Regions from separate parts of the Homo sapiens genome. Here regions 1, 3 and 4 are each linked to region 2. Evidence: promoter capture Hi-C in human tissues and cell types (Jung and others, 2019). All regions are on one chromosome and are shown on one strand. Each heading gives the region's core, a stretch centred on a gene start or on the middle of the fragment in contact. The rest is flanking DNA. Distances are from core to core; before and after follow the strand shown. Region 1 has its middle 84 kb from the start of IQSEC1. Region 2 holds the start of HDAC11 (histone deacetylase 11). Region 3 overlaps WNT7A (Wnt family member 7A). Region 4 has its middle 120 kb from the start of IQSEC1.

Region 1 (2,700 bases), core at 117-2,616, 320 kb before region 2:
AGTGAGCTGAAACTGCACTGCTGCACTCTAGCCTAGGTGATAGAGCGAGACTCCGTCCCAAAAAAATAAAAATTAAAAATAAAATAAATAAAATAAAAACACTAAACAAAATAGGAATGGAAAGAAACTACCTCAACATAATGAAGACCATATACAAAAAATCCACAGCTAACATCATACTCAGCAGTGAAAGACTGAAAGCTTTTTAGCTAAGATCAGGAACAAGACAAGGATGTCATTTTTGTCATTTGGGCTCAACATAGTATTGGAAGTCCTAGATAGGCAATTAGGAAAGAGAAAGAAGTGCATGATGGAGGGACAGAAGTGGGAGCATTCAGGCATGTGGACAGACAAGCTTAGCACATTTAGCTCTGGCCTCCTTCCAGAGGTGCTCCCCTTGGATGTGGGAAGTGGCAAGTACAGAGACCAAAATAGCATGCTGTGCCAGGGCACATGGCAGAGCACTGAGGCACAGCACTGCATAAGACAAAGTTCCTGCTGACATTCCAGTGGGGACAGGCAGATAAGGGACAGAAGTAAACTGGCTGATGTGCAGAGATTGGCTAGGTTACTTCAGGTGAGATGATAAGGGAAGAGGAGCTGACATCTGAAGGGGGATTGGACTGAGGAGAACTCATCTTGGGTGAGACCTGGGGGAGCATGTTCTAGGCTGAGGGAACAGCACAGGCAAAGGCCCTGGGACACTAATGAGCTTGGAAGAATGGAGGTACCAGAAGGCCAGAGTGTGATGACCACAGTGATGGAGGAGAGAATGGAGAGTCAGATGTGGACAAGATCAAGAAAACTCTTGATGTTTTCATTTCCATTTGAGATAAGGACACTGAGGCTCAGGGAATTTGAGTCATTTGACCAAGGTCATTCAGCTTAGACCCTGGTTTCAAAGTCCTCACTGTCCCAAACACTGGACCTGGGTCAGATGCACACATACACATTGTGTCACCACCTTCTAAGTACCTTTAAGATTTGGTTGCAATAGAAGCAGATGTTTAGACAAGGCTTACCAAATGTATTTTGGGATTTAGTCTAATTCCCCATTAGTAGACTCCCTTGCCCCCACACCAATATCTCTGCCTCATCTTCTAAACAGTCAGTTATTAATTCTCTACACAAGTTCACAGAAAACAAATCAAAACGCAAAATACACCCAGTCAGATAGGTTTTTGCCCAGTGACTTCAATGTGGCTCCTATAAGATCTTTCTACTTCCCGTGTAAAGAAAGGCCCAGTAGTGCCTCTGAAAGCAGGCTGAGGGTATCCAGAGGCCATTCAAGGGTCTCAGGGACCCACAATTCATAGGCCACACAGCAGAATGAACACAGCTGAAGAAAGCACTAGTGAACTAGAAGACCATCCTGAGGAAATTGCTCAGGATACAGCACAGAGTCAAGGAGATGGAAAAGTAAAGTCCACCACAGTCAAGAATGCCCAAGAAATCTCAATCATAAACCCAGGGGAGCAAAGGAAGGAAGGAGGACAGCCAAAAGGGCACACTCTACAAGCAGCTGCTACCACCTCCTGCTCATGTAAACATGGGCTTGCCTCAGACCCTCCCTCAGGATTCTGAGCAGCCGCGTCTCCACAGACTGTGGCAGAGGGAGAAGAAAGGAAATGGATGTTAACTGAATGCTATGACATGGCATGTGCTGTTCCATCTATGCCTCATTTAATTGGTCCATGGCCTTGAGGCTAAAGTCTTTGCTCCGATTTCATCATGGGGCAGAAATTAACTGTATCTCATTGGTCTTCACACCCTTAGTAGTTAGCACAAAGACACAGTAGGTGCTCAATGAAGACTGTTAAATGAGTGTGAAATCTGAGGCTTGGAGAGCTCAGGGGCTGTTGCATAGTGACATGAGGGTAAGACAAAGAGAAAGGATTTGAATTCAAGATTATCTGCCCCCAGTGTCTGTACTCTTTTGATTCCACCGTGCTAAGAAATGTCCACTCGCCTCCAGAGGCCGCCGGCTCAGCCCTCAGTCCAGCACCTCCAAAACATGGCTGGATAGCGGCAGAGGGACCCGGCCCAGCCCCAGCCCGTCTCTCACATTTGGAGCCTGCTCCCATTCCTTCCTGGAGAGAAAGAGTTCAGCTCTGTCTACCTGGCACAGCAAACACTCCCAGCTTTGTCTGCCACGTTCAGCAGTTTTCATACCTCCTTGTGAACAAAATAAACTGTGTGTTCTCATTTTGGGTTTGGGGAAAAAGGCCCAGTTAATTACAAAGGCTGCTTTGCCTTGGTATGGAGACAGAAAACTGGATTTGTTTGGACTAATTACGTTTACTCACACATCTTGGTTCCAGCTGAGTCAATGCTGGTAACCAGGCCCACCGTCTCCAGAATCTCCCCCACCATCCCCAAACAAAACAGTCCTTGGGCTCTCCTCATTGTCCCAGCCCTGAGCCTTGCTGTTGCCTTTGGAAAATGCCAGTCAACGTTCAGAGTCCTGACGGGGAGGCGACCTACATGGGACCACCTCATGCAATATGCTTCTAAGGTCAGGGCTGGGCGTGGTAATCCCAGCACTTTAGGAGTCCGAGACAGGCAGATCACTTGAGCCCAGGAGTTCAAGTTCAGCCTGGGCATCATGACAAAACCCTGTCTCTACTAAAAATACAAAAATTAGCCAAGCGTGGTGGTGTGCGCCTGTAGTCCCAGCCACTCAGGAGGCTGAGGCACGAG
Region 2 (2,700 bases), core at 71-2,570:
TCAAGCGATTCTCCTGCCCCAGCCTCCCGAGTAGCTGGGATTACAGGCGCCCTTCATCACGCCCAGCTAATTTTTTGTATTTTTAGTAGAGACGGGGTTTCACCATGTTGGTCAGGATGGTCTCGAACTCCTGACCTCAGGTGATTCACCCGCCTCGGCCTCCCAAAGTGCTGGGATTACAGGCGTGAGCCACCGCACCCGGCCCAGTACTTCATTTTCAGATGCAGACATGAAGGACCAGAAGGCTGAAGCAACCTGCCCAAAGCCACTATGCTGGCGGGTGGCCGAGTTTGGGTTTAATCCAGGCCCGAACCTCAGTTCCCTCAAGATAAAGTTGGGGTGATTATGGCACCTTTCTCAGGATTAGGTTGTGAGGCTCAGATGCCATCATGCAATCATGGCAGGCACACGGGGGCCCCTCTTCAAACGTCTGTGCGCTTCCCTTGTGCCCCGCCCTGGCACACAGCCGCCCCCGCGGAGCCCAGGGATCCCAGCCCGGCAGTCCTCCGTCAGCTGCTTCTGTTTGGATGGCGGGGACGGCTGGGCCGACAGAGAGGCCCATTGTCTCCGTCCTCTGGGGCTCTATTGTTGGGGCCTCCTCCTGGGTTGCAGCCCCACGGACAACCCCAGCTGTCGCTTGGGCCTGGCTCAGCTTACCCCGGCGGTGAGGGTGCGGGTCGGGGACGGAGACGCGTGCACCCTGAAGACAGTAACTAGGCCTGCTCTACAGAGGGAAACGCAGGCTCTGAGAGCCTACATGTCTTCGCCGGGAGTGCTTGTCCCGGAGCTGCTCGCAGACTGGGCCGGGGGTGGGCTCGGGTCGGAGAGGTCACGGGGCTCCTTAGGTCACAGGCGGCAGGGCCAGAGAAACTCCCCCGCCCCTACGTTTAACTCGCGGAAACAAGGGCCCAGAGAGCCCAGACGCCAGCCCAAGGTCACACAGCGAAGCCCCGGCACAGCCCGCCGGGAACCTGTCGTTTCTAACCCCCAGCCTCTCGCCGTTTCTACCCAGCTTGGGAAGCGCAGGAACAGGACATACGGTGGTCGCGCCCCTTCCGCGAGGCCGGGGTGAAACCCGCTTGGCCCTCCCGCCAGGGGGCGGAGCTTCCGAACCAGGCGGGATTCCACCGGGTATTTGCCTGCGGAGGCGGGACTTCGGGCTTGATGGGCGTTGGGGGTGGCCTTCCTGCGGGCAGGCTCTCTGTGTCGCAACACTGGCGGGGCGGGCCAAATCGGCCAGAGCTCTGCCCCCAGAGGACGCGGCTAAGCCCGGGGGCGTGTCCTGGGCTGGCCCCACCCGCGCCCCGCCCCGCCCCGCCCGGTCGCGGAGCTGCGGCCAGCTTTGGGAGGGCCGGCCCCGGGATGTGAGTGCCGCGGGGCGAGGGCGGGGGTGGGCTCCCAGGGGTCCCGGTGGGCGGGCGCGCTAGGGCGAGGGCGGGGACGGCCGGGCGGGCGCGCCAGGTAAGGGCCCAGATTTGCTGGTGAGGGGTGAGGGACGCTCGGGACGGGTGTTTCCAGGCCCTCCCGGCGCGCCAGGCCAGCCCCGCGCCCCTGCTCGGTGGCCCGAGGGACGCGCGCCGGCCGCGGGCCTGGGCCCGGACCCGGAGCGGTCGGGCGATGTGCGCGGGTCTGACGTCTGCGCTGCCCAGCCCCCTGGCTACGCGGACGCCCCCACGGAGGCAGCCACTGGGGCGGATTTCTGTCTCTGGGTGACGACTGCCAGGGTGTGATGGGAAGGGTTAGCAGCGCAGCGGGGTCAGGGGATCCCCGCCCCCCGCCCTGGCTCAGGTTGGGTCCCGACTTGGGTTTCTGAGTGCTTACTGTGCTCAGCTCCTCAGTTGCATTCTCTGAGTCCTCACAACAGCCACACATTTTGCAGCCGAAGCCTTGTGCCACACAGCTGTGGGGGCATTTATTACGGTGCAGAGGTGATGCGCGGAGGCCTTGCAGCCAGACACACCTGAGTGCACGCCTGCTTCTCCACAGACCTGCACTGTGACCTTGGGCACACCTGGTCTGCTCTCTGAGCCTCTGGTGCGATTGTGGTGCCTACCCCCAGGGCTGCTGTGAGGACTGGATTGGAATTGGGTTCCGGGAAAGGCAGCCAGTTTAAGCAGCTGTTGTTGAGGGGCCCTTGTCTGCGGCTGAGGGGCTAGTGGTGCTGGGCAATGGCTGGTGGGTCAGTCCAGGCGGGCTCGGGAGGGAGCTGCTTTCTGCCGAGGCTGCCCCAGCTGTGCGTCTGTCTTTTTCCACACGGTAGGCTACACACAACCCAGCTGTACCAGCATGTGCCAGAGACACGCTGGCCAATCGTGTACTCGCCGCGCTACAACATCACCTTCATGGGCCTGGAGAAGCTGCATCCCTTTGATGCCGGAAAATGGGGCAAAGTGATCAATTTCCTAAAAGGTATGGAAGGTCCCCCTTGGACTCTCATCTGCTTCCTCCAACCCACCTGTCCTCTCCGTCCTCATCCCCAACATAAGCCTCAGGCTCTCTCCCATCTTCAGTTTCAGCCCTCGGATGGCCTTCCACCCATGCTTCCGCCCAAAATGATTTTTCCAACACAGACTCCTAATCACGATATGATGTCCCTGACTCAGACTCTCCCTGGCTCCCCATCCTGTGGGCCTAAGTCCTGCCTCTGCCCAAGAGGCCTAGTGGAAAGGTAGCTGATTACTGATGGGCACAGGGAAGGTG
Region 3 (2,700 bases), core at 109-2,608, 350 kb after region 2:
GCCGAACAGAAGGAAGGTGGGTGGGCTAGGATGGCCTTGCTCCCTCGGTGATGGTCACTTGGGCTGGCTTGTGTAGTGGACACTGTCGCATGCCACTGGGATCTGTCCTTCAGGACCAGACACTCCCTCTGCAGCTGCTGGGAGTGTTGCTGCTGATGGCTAGCAGCTGAGTTCCTCCCTAGGCACTGCCCTCCCCTGATGGGAGCTGTCTCACCCAAGACCACTCCCCCTCCCTGGGCAGCCCCCCAGCCAAAGACTGGTTGGTGCTGGGTACAAAGGCCCATCTCCCTGCCTCCATGGGGCTAACCCAGCTCCAGGTTTCTCATGGGACCAGCATAAGTCCCTGTGGCTGCTGCATCACTGGCCAACTTCTCTCGATGCCCAGGGCTGCCTTCCTCACTGCCTTATAGGTGTATCTCCCCAGAGTCCCGCCCAGGACCTGTCCTGCTTGCAAATGTCCAAACCAGGGACCCTTTCCAAGGCACTGAATAAAGACAACGTGGAGGTCAGCGGGCAGGCAGCCTTGGACCCCCAACCCCGGGAGACAATAAGTGTGGATACCCACACCAGGATAGGTGCTACAGGCTCCCATCCAGAGCTGCCACCACCTGCTCCCCTCCTGTTCCTGCTCCTGCTTCTCCTGCTCCTGATGATATTCCTCCTCCTCCTCCCCCTCTTCCTCCTCCTCAGGCTCCTCCTGCTCCCCCTCCTCCTCCTCAAGATCCTCCTGCTCTTCCTCCTGCTCCTCCTTCTCCTTCTCTTGCTCTTCATGCTCCTCCTTCTCCCCCTCCTCCTCCTCTTGCTCCCATCCTCCTGCTCCTCCTCTTCCTCTGCAGGCTCCTCCTCCTCTACAGGCTTCTCCTTCTTCCCAAGCTTCTCCTACTCTTCCTCCTTCTGCTCCTCATCCTCCACAGGCTCCTCCCACTCCTCCTCCTCTACAGGCTCCTCCCACTCTTCCTTCTCACAGGCTCCTCCTCTTTCTCAAGCTTCTCCTTCTTCCCAAGCTTCTCCTGCTCTTCCTCCTCCTCCCCCTCCTCAGGCTCCTCCTACTCTTTCTCCTGCTCTTCCTCCTCCTTCTCAGTCTCCTCCTGCTCCTCCTCTCCCTCCCCATGTCGATCCATCTTAGCAGAAAGCTGCATTTCAGCCAGCTGCAGCTGTATACCTCTGGGCGACTCAGATGAAAGAGCAGAAAAAATGGCTTTTTTTTTTTTCTGTAAACATTTGAGGTATTTTCTTTTTGGTGCATTCTTTAAGTCATTCTGGATGCACTGACTTCAAGCAAATATTCCTGCCTGACATGGAGGGGATGGCAGGGAAAAGGTGCACCCCATAGGACAGGGCCCCTGGAATGCAGCCTGGGAGGTACAGGAAGAGAGGTTTCCACTCAAGCCAGAGAGAGGTTTTCTGGTCTATACTGGGGGCCTTCTGAAACTCAGTGTTTGCCAGGTTACAACTGCTTAGATGCTGTCTATGGCTCCTGAGGTTAAAGCCCAGATTCCTCTGCCTGGCTTTCAAGACCCTCCATGAACTGGTCTCTGCCCAACTTTGGGGTATCTTAGGAGCCCGAGAACTGTGGACACACAGCCCCTCACCCCAGATTCATCTCTTTCTAGGCTCCTACCCCCCCAGTAACCTGTGTGGCCTGCACACAGTCACATCCCACCATGTGCTCACACATACACAACCTCCCCAGGCATGGCCCCATGCAACCCCCCACAGGCTCACACCCTCACACTCATCAGCACACTCAAAGCACACACTCTTACGCCTGTGCGCACACTCACACACTCCCTCACAGGTATGCATGACACATATGCTCACACACAGGTGCTTCTCATGCCGTCCATCCCTACACAACATATGCACAGATAGCCCTTCACACACAGTCCTGCCCACATACTTCCCGGCACACAAGCGCACACACACACACCCTCAAACATGAAGGGAGCCCATATGGTGGTGGCTAGCAGATGGACCCACTGCACACTGGCATGGGGGGCCTGGGGCCAGGTCTCAGCTTTGCTCCCCTGTAAACTGGGGCATTTAAAGTAGCAAACCCATTTGGAGGTGGAATAGTCGAGCCCCACACAGTGCAGCACCACACAGTGCAGCCTCTCCTAGATGCATTCTGGGTGCCTCTCTCTCATAAGTGACCTCCCTGCAGGCTGCTAGGTTGACTACGGGGCAGGGGTTGCCTTGGGCAGGCCTGTCCCAGAGTCTAGGTTAGTGGGGACTGTGGCCTGTGACCTGGGGTGAGGCAATTGGGTAACCCCAACCACAGCGTGAGGGGCAGGGAGGCTGACAGCGGGGACATGGAGCCACTGAACCTATGTGCTTCTCCCAACTGCTGGAGCACCCTGAAATGGCCTTGGCAGTCAGTCATACATTCACTTATTCATTCATCCACTCATTCACCTTTCCACCACACGCTAACTTAATCCCTTCCCTGGCCAGGCGCTGAGGTTGGTGGCCAGGTGGGCAGAAAGAGGCAAGCCCCTGACTCCCTTGAAGCTTAAGCTCTGGAGGGGGAGGTGGCTGTGCTGTCAACTGTCACACGGGCATAAGGCTGATACCAGCTTCCACCAATGGTGGCCCTGAAGGAAAGCGCAAACTTGCTCCCGTTCCTGTGGTCACAGCTCCCAGAAGTTTCCCCCACAGCCTGGCTGGAAAATGTTTTTAAAACAATTTGAGAAATCTGAA
Region 4 (2,700 bases), core at 94-2,593, 280 kb before region 2:
TCAGGTGACCCCAGCCCAGCCATCCAGGCACCTGAAGCCTCTGAGTCTTCTTCCAGCTGGTGCCGCAGACGTTGTGGAGCAGAGGCAAGCCATCCTGACCTCAGAGACAAGGAAAGGTAACGCATGAAGCCTGCTGTTCTACACCACTAAGGTTTGGCAAGCTTTGTTCCCCAAGGTGCACATTTCCTTCCTCCTCAACCGAGGGCTCAATGTGGCTTCCTTCCTGAGCGCCTCTGAGACAGGCTCCTGTCACTGCAGCATTTCCCAGGCTGCTTGCCCTGCACGTCTGGCTGTCACTCAGCCCCATCTCCTGGAGAACAGGCCACAGGGAGGGCTGCGTGAGCAGCCTGCCAAGTCTCCCTGCTTCTTTCCCAATGAGAAGAACACACGTTTCTGATTCCCTTTGCAAATGAAAGGTAAATCTTTCAGTGAATGAATAATGAATATCCCTGGCATGCGCGTGCGTGTGTATGTACATGTGTGTGCGTGTGTGTGTGTGTGTGTGTGTGTGTGTGTGTGTGTGTGTGGTGGGGAGCAGGCTGGAGAGCCCATCCCAGGAAGTCCAGAAAGAAGCAGCCGCAGGGGCTCTATTCCTTGTCTCTCAGGCCACACAGGCTTGTCCCAAGTCAGGGGGAGCAGGAGAGTCTGTGGGATCCGGGTGGGGGTGTCACCGGGCAGCAGACCCAGCTCAGAGGCAGGAAGGGTGTTCTCTGAGGCAGGATGCGTAGGGAGAGTTGAGGAGGGCTGCAGTTAAGACCCTTGCCACGACACTGCCTCCACCTGGAGGCCCCTGTGCCCTGGGACACTGTGGACCATAGACCAAGACAGCAAGGACATCAAAGGCTACCTCCTCTTGGGACTGTGTAGCTTTGTCTGCCTCTCCAGGAGCCTGAAGACATCTGAACAGATATCCCCTACGGAAGGTCAGGGATGCACATGAACCATGTCTTCCTTCACTTGAACGGGAAACGCTTGCTCCCTGCACACATTTTTTAAAAATCAACATTTGCAGCCCCCAAGCGCCCACAACAGCGGGAAAGAGGCATCTTCATAAACGGCAGATGCATGGCCAGGGGCGCTGGAGGGTGGGGTGCTCCCTGCCCCACTGGGGCTGAGCTGGACAGGCACTGAGTTCCCAGCCTGGCAGACAGGACGTGCTGGTGCCCGGCCCCATCCTGAAGTGTCCCAGCAGCCAACACTCATCACCAGGCCAGCTGCAGGGCAGGCCACTCTCCACAAGGCTACAGGGACTGGGGGCCTCAAATGTCCCCCACAGGCTGCATAATGACCAGGGCCCCTACGACCAAGCTGCCCGCCCTATTCAGCAGCATCTTGACAGAGTCCAGACCCAGGCCCTGATAACTTCACGGCCGCATGCAGTAGTCGCTAGTCAGCATCCCACCTTACGACCAGCAGAGTGGTTCAGGGAGGTGCACAGGCCAGGCATGGGTGGGGCATCAACATTGCAAGCTGGTAGGGAAGTGTGCCCCGTTCACAGGTGGGCACACTGAGGTCCAGAGAGGCCAAGGAAGATAGTCAAGGCCGAATTAGGCTTTAGTACAGGCTGGACATGAGCTAGGTGGGAGCGAGTCCCCCAGCCAGCGGGAAGAAAAACCCTGGTCTTGGAGGGCCTGAGTGGCCTGCCCAAGGCTGCCCAGCAGGAGCGGAGCGTGGTGCCCGCGGCTTGGATGTGTGTGCACAGCGTGCACCCGGCCTCCCGAGGCCTCTCTGTGGAGAGGACTATGCCCTGTGGCCCCGGGGCAGGGCTTAGACTCTGTGGGCACGCAGGGTCTGAAAGGACAGAGATGATGACCCTTGCCTGGAGGAGAATTGTGTGAAGAGGTGCTGAGCTCAGGCCACGTGGCCTGTTTTCTCTAATTCTAACAATTTCTGCTCATGCCCCACAGAGGACCCCTATAATTTAGTCCTACGGTCAACAAGCTCATCCAGACATTAAAAGGTAATTTACTTTCTGCTTCTCCTGCTTGTTATGGCCCATTTGTGGGCTTTTTTCTCCCAAAAGCATAAGCCTTGCAACCATGTAAACACAAAATATTTAAAGAGTAATTCTGAAGCTTGGGATGGCCGTGGGCTGTCCCCCTGGAGGTTCTGGGTGGCTCATCTGAAGAGTGCATACCGCGCCTAGAGATCCAGTCTGAGAACTCACCAACCAGGGTAGGCGGGGGGCAGGAAGGGGCTCCACCCAGAGTGAGATGCAGATTTCACGCAGCTCAGCTCCTAGGCGGTGATGACCGCTGGAATGTCCTGCCACCACCAAGAGTCCTGTGCATGACACTCTGGGTGGCACAGGGAAATGCACATGTTCTGAGTTTGGCTTGGTGGTGACCTACAGCCGGGATCATACCACAGCCAACTGCCTTTGAATTCCAGCTCTCATGCCGGCTGGCTGCGTCCTCTTACACACCATGTGACCATGGGCAAGGCACTGCCATGTCTTAGCCTGTGTTTCTCCACCACAAGAAGAGGCTAAGCCTCCACCCAAAGCACCCAACACAGCAAGGCACGTGGGAGCTGAAGCCAGTGCCTGCTGGAGCTCATGCCCTTGGAGTGAGGAGTTATTATTCTGCTGAAGAAAAGCAGAATCCCACACTTTCTGTTCCTGGGAAAGAAAAAGCCTGCTGAGGAGAAATGCCCAGGACGGAATACACCAGAGTGACCATGGCTGGGCTTGGGAGGCTG

The links. The method cuts DNA at HindIII sites, captures the fragments that hold promoters and counts their contacts. A contact is called where the count stands out against the background at its distance.
Region 1: a fragment that was not itself captured here is called in contact with the fragment with the promoter of HDAC11 in region 2 in 1 of the 25 tissues and cell types used here (dorsolateral prefrontal cortex).
Region 3: a contact is called between a fragment that was not itself captured here and the fragment with the promoter of HDAC11 in region 2, in 1 of the 25 tissues and cell types used here (H1 embryonic stem cells).
Region 4: a contact is called between a fragment that was not itself captured here and the fragment with the promoter of HDAC11 in region 2, in 3 of the 25 tissues and cell types used here (H1 embryonic stem cells, adrenal gland and spleen).

The regions. Positions count from the first base shown.
Region 1 is chr3:13,156,173-13,158,872 of GRCh38, forward strand. It overlaps a transcript of IQSEC1 not described here. Among named protein-coding and RNA genes, the nearest start is that of IQSEC1, 84 kb to the left of the region's middle. The HindIII fragment of the contact is 3,739 bases long and covers 1-2,700 here.
Region 2 is chr3:13,478,986-13,481,685 of GRCh38, forward strand. It overlaps HDAC11 (histone deacetylase 11), which reads left to right and starts at 1,321. Exons shown (of 10, transcript NM_024827.4): 1 at 1,321-1,364; 2 at 2,261-2,409. The coding sequence starts at 1,363. HDAC11-AS1 (HDAC11 antisense RNA 1) reads right to left here and starts at 1,068. Exons shown (of 2, transcript NR_046690.1): 1 at 658-1,068. RefSeq lists enhancers at 677-736, 1,386-2,042 and a silencer at 1,197-1,686. The HindIII fragment of the contact is 10,065 bases long and covers 1-2,700 here.
Region 3 is chr3:13,831,455-13,834,154 of GRCh38, forward strand. The region is part of intron 3 of WNT7A (Wnt family member 7A); the gene reads right to left. Among named protein-coding and RNA genes, the nearest start is that of WNT7A, 47 kb to the right of the region's middle. RefSeq lists an enhancer at 2,090-2,590. The HindIII fragment of the contact is 4,838 bases long and covers 1-2,700 here.
Region 4 is chr3:13,196,264-13,198,963 of GRCh38, forward strand. It overlaps a transcript of IQSEC1 not described here. Among named protein-coding and RNA genes, the nearest start is that of IQSEC1, 120 kb to the left of the region's middle. RefSeq lists enhancers at 1,518-2,138, 2,699-2,700. The HindIII fragment of the contact is 4,879 bases long and covers 1-2,700 here.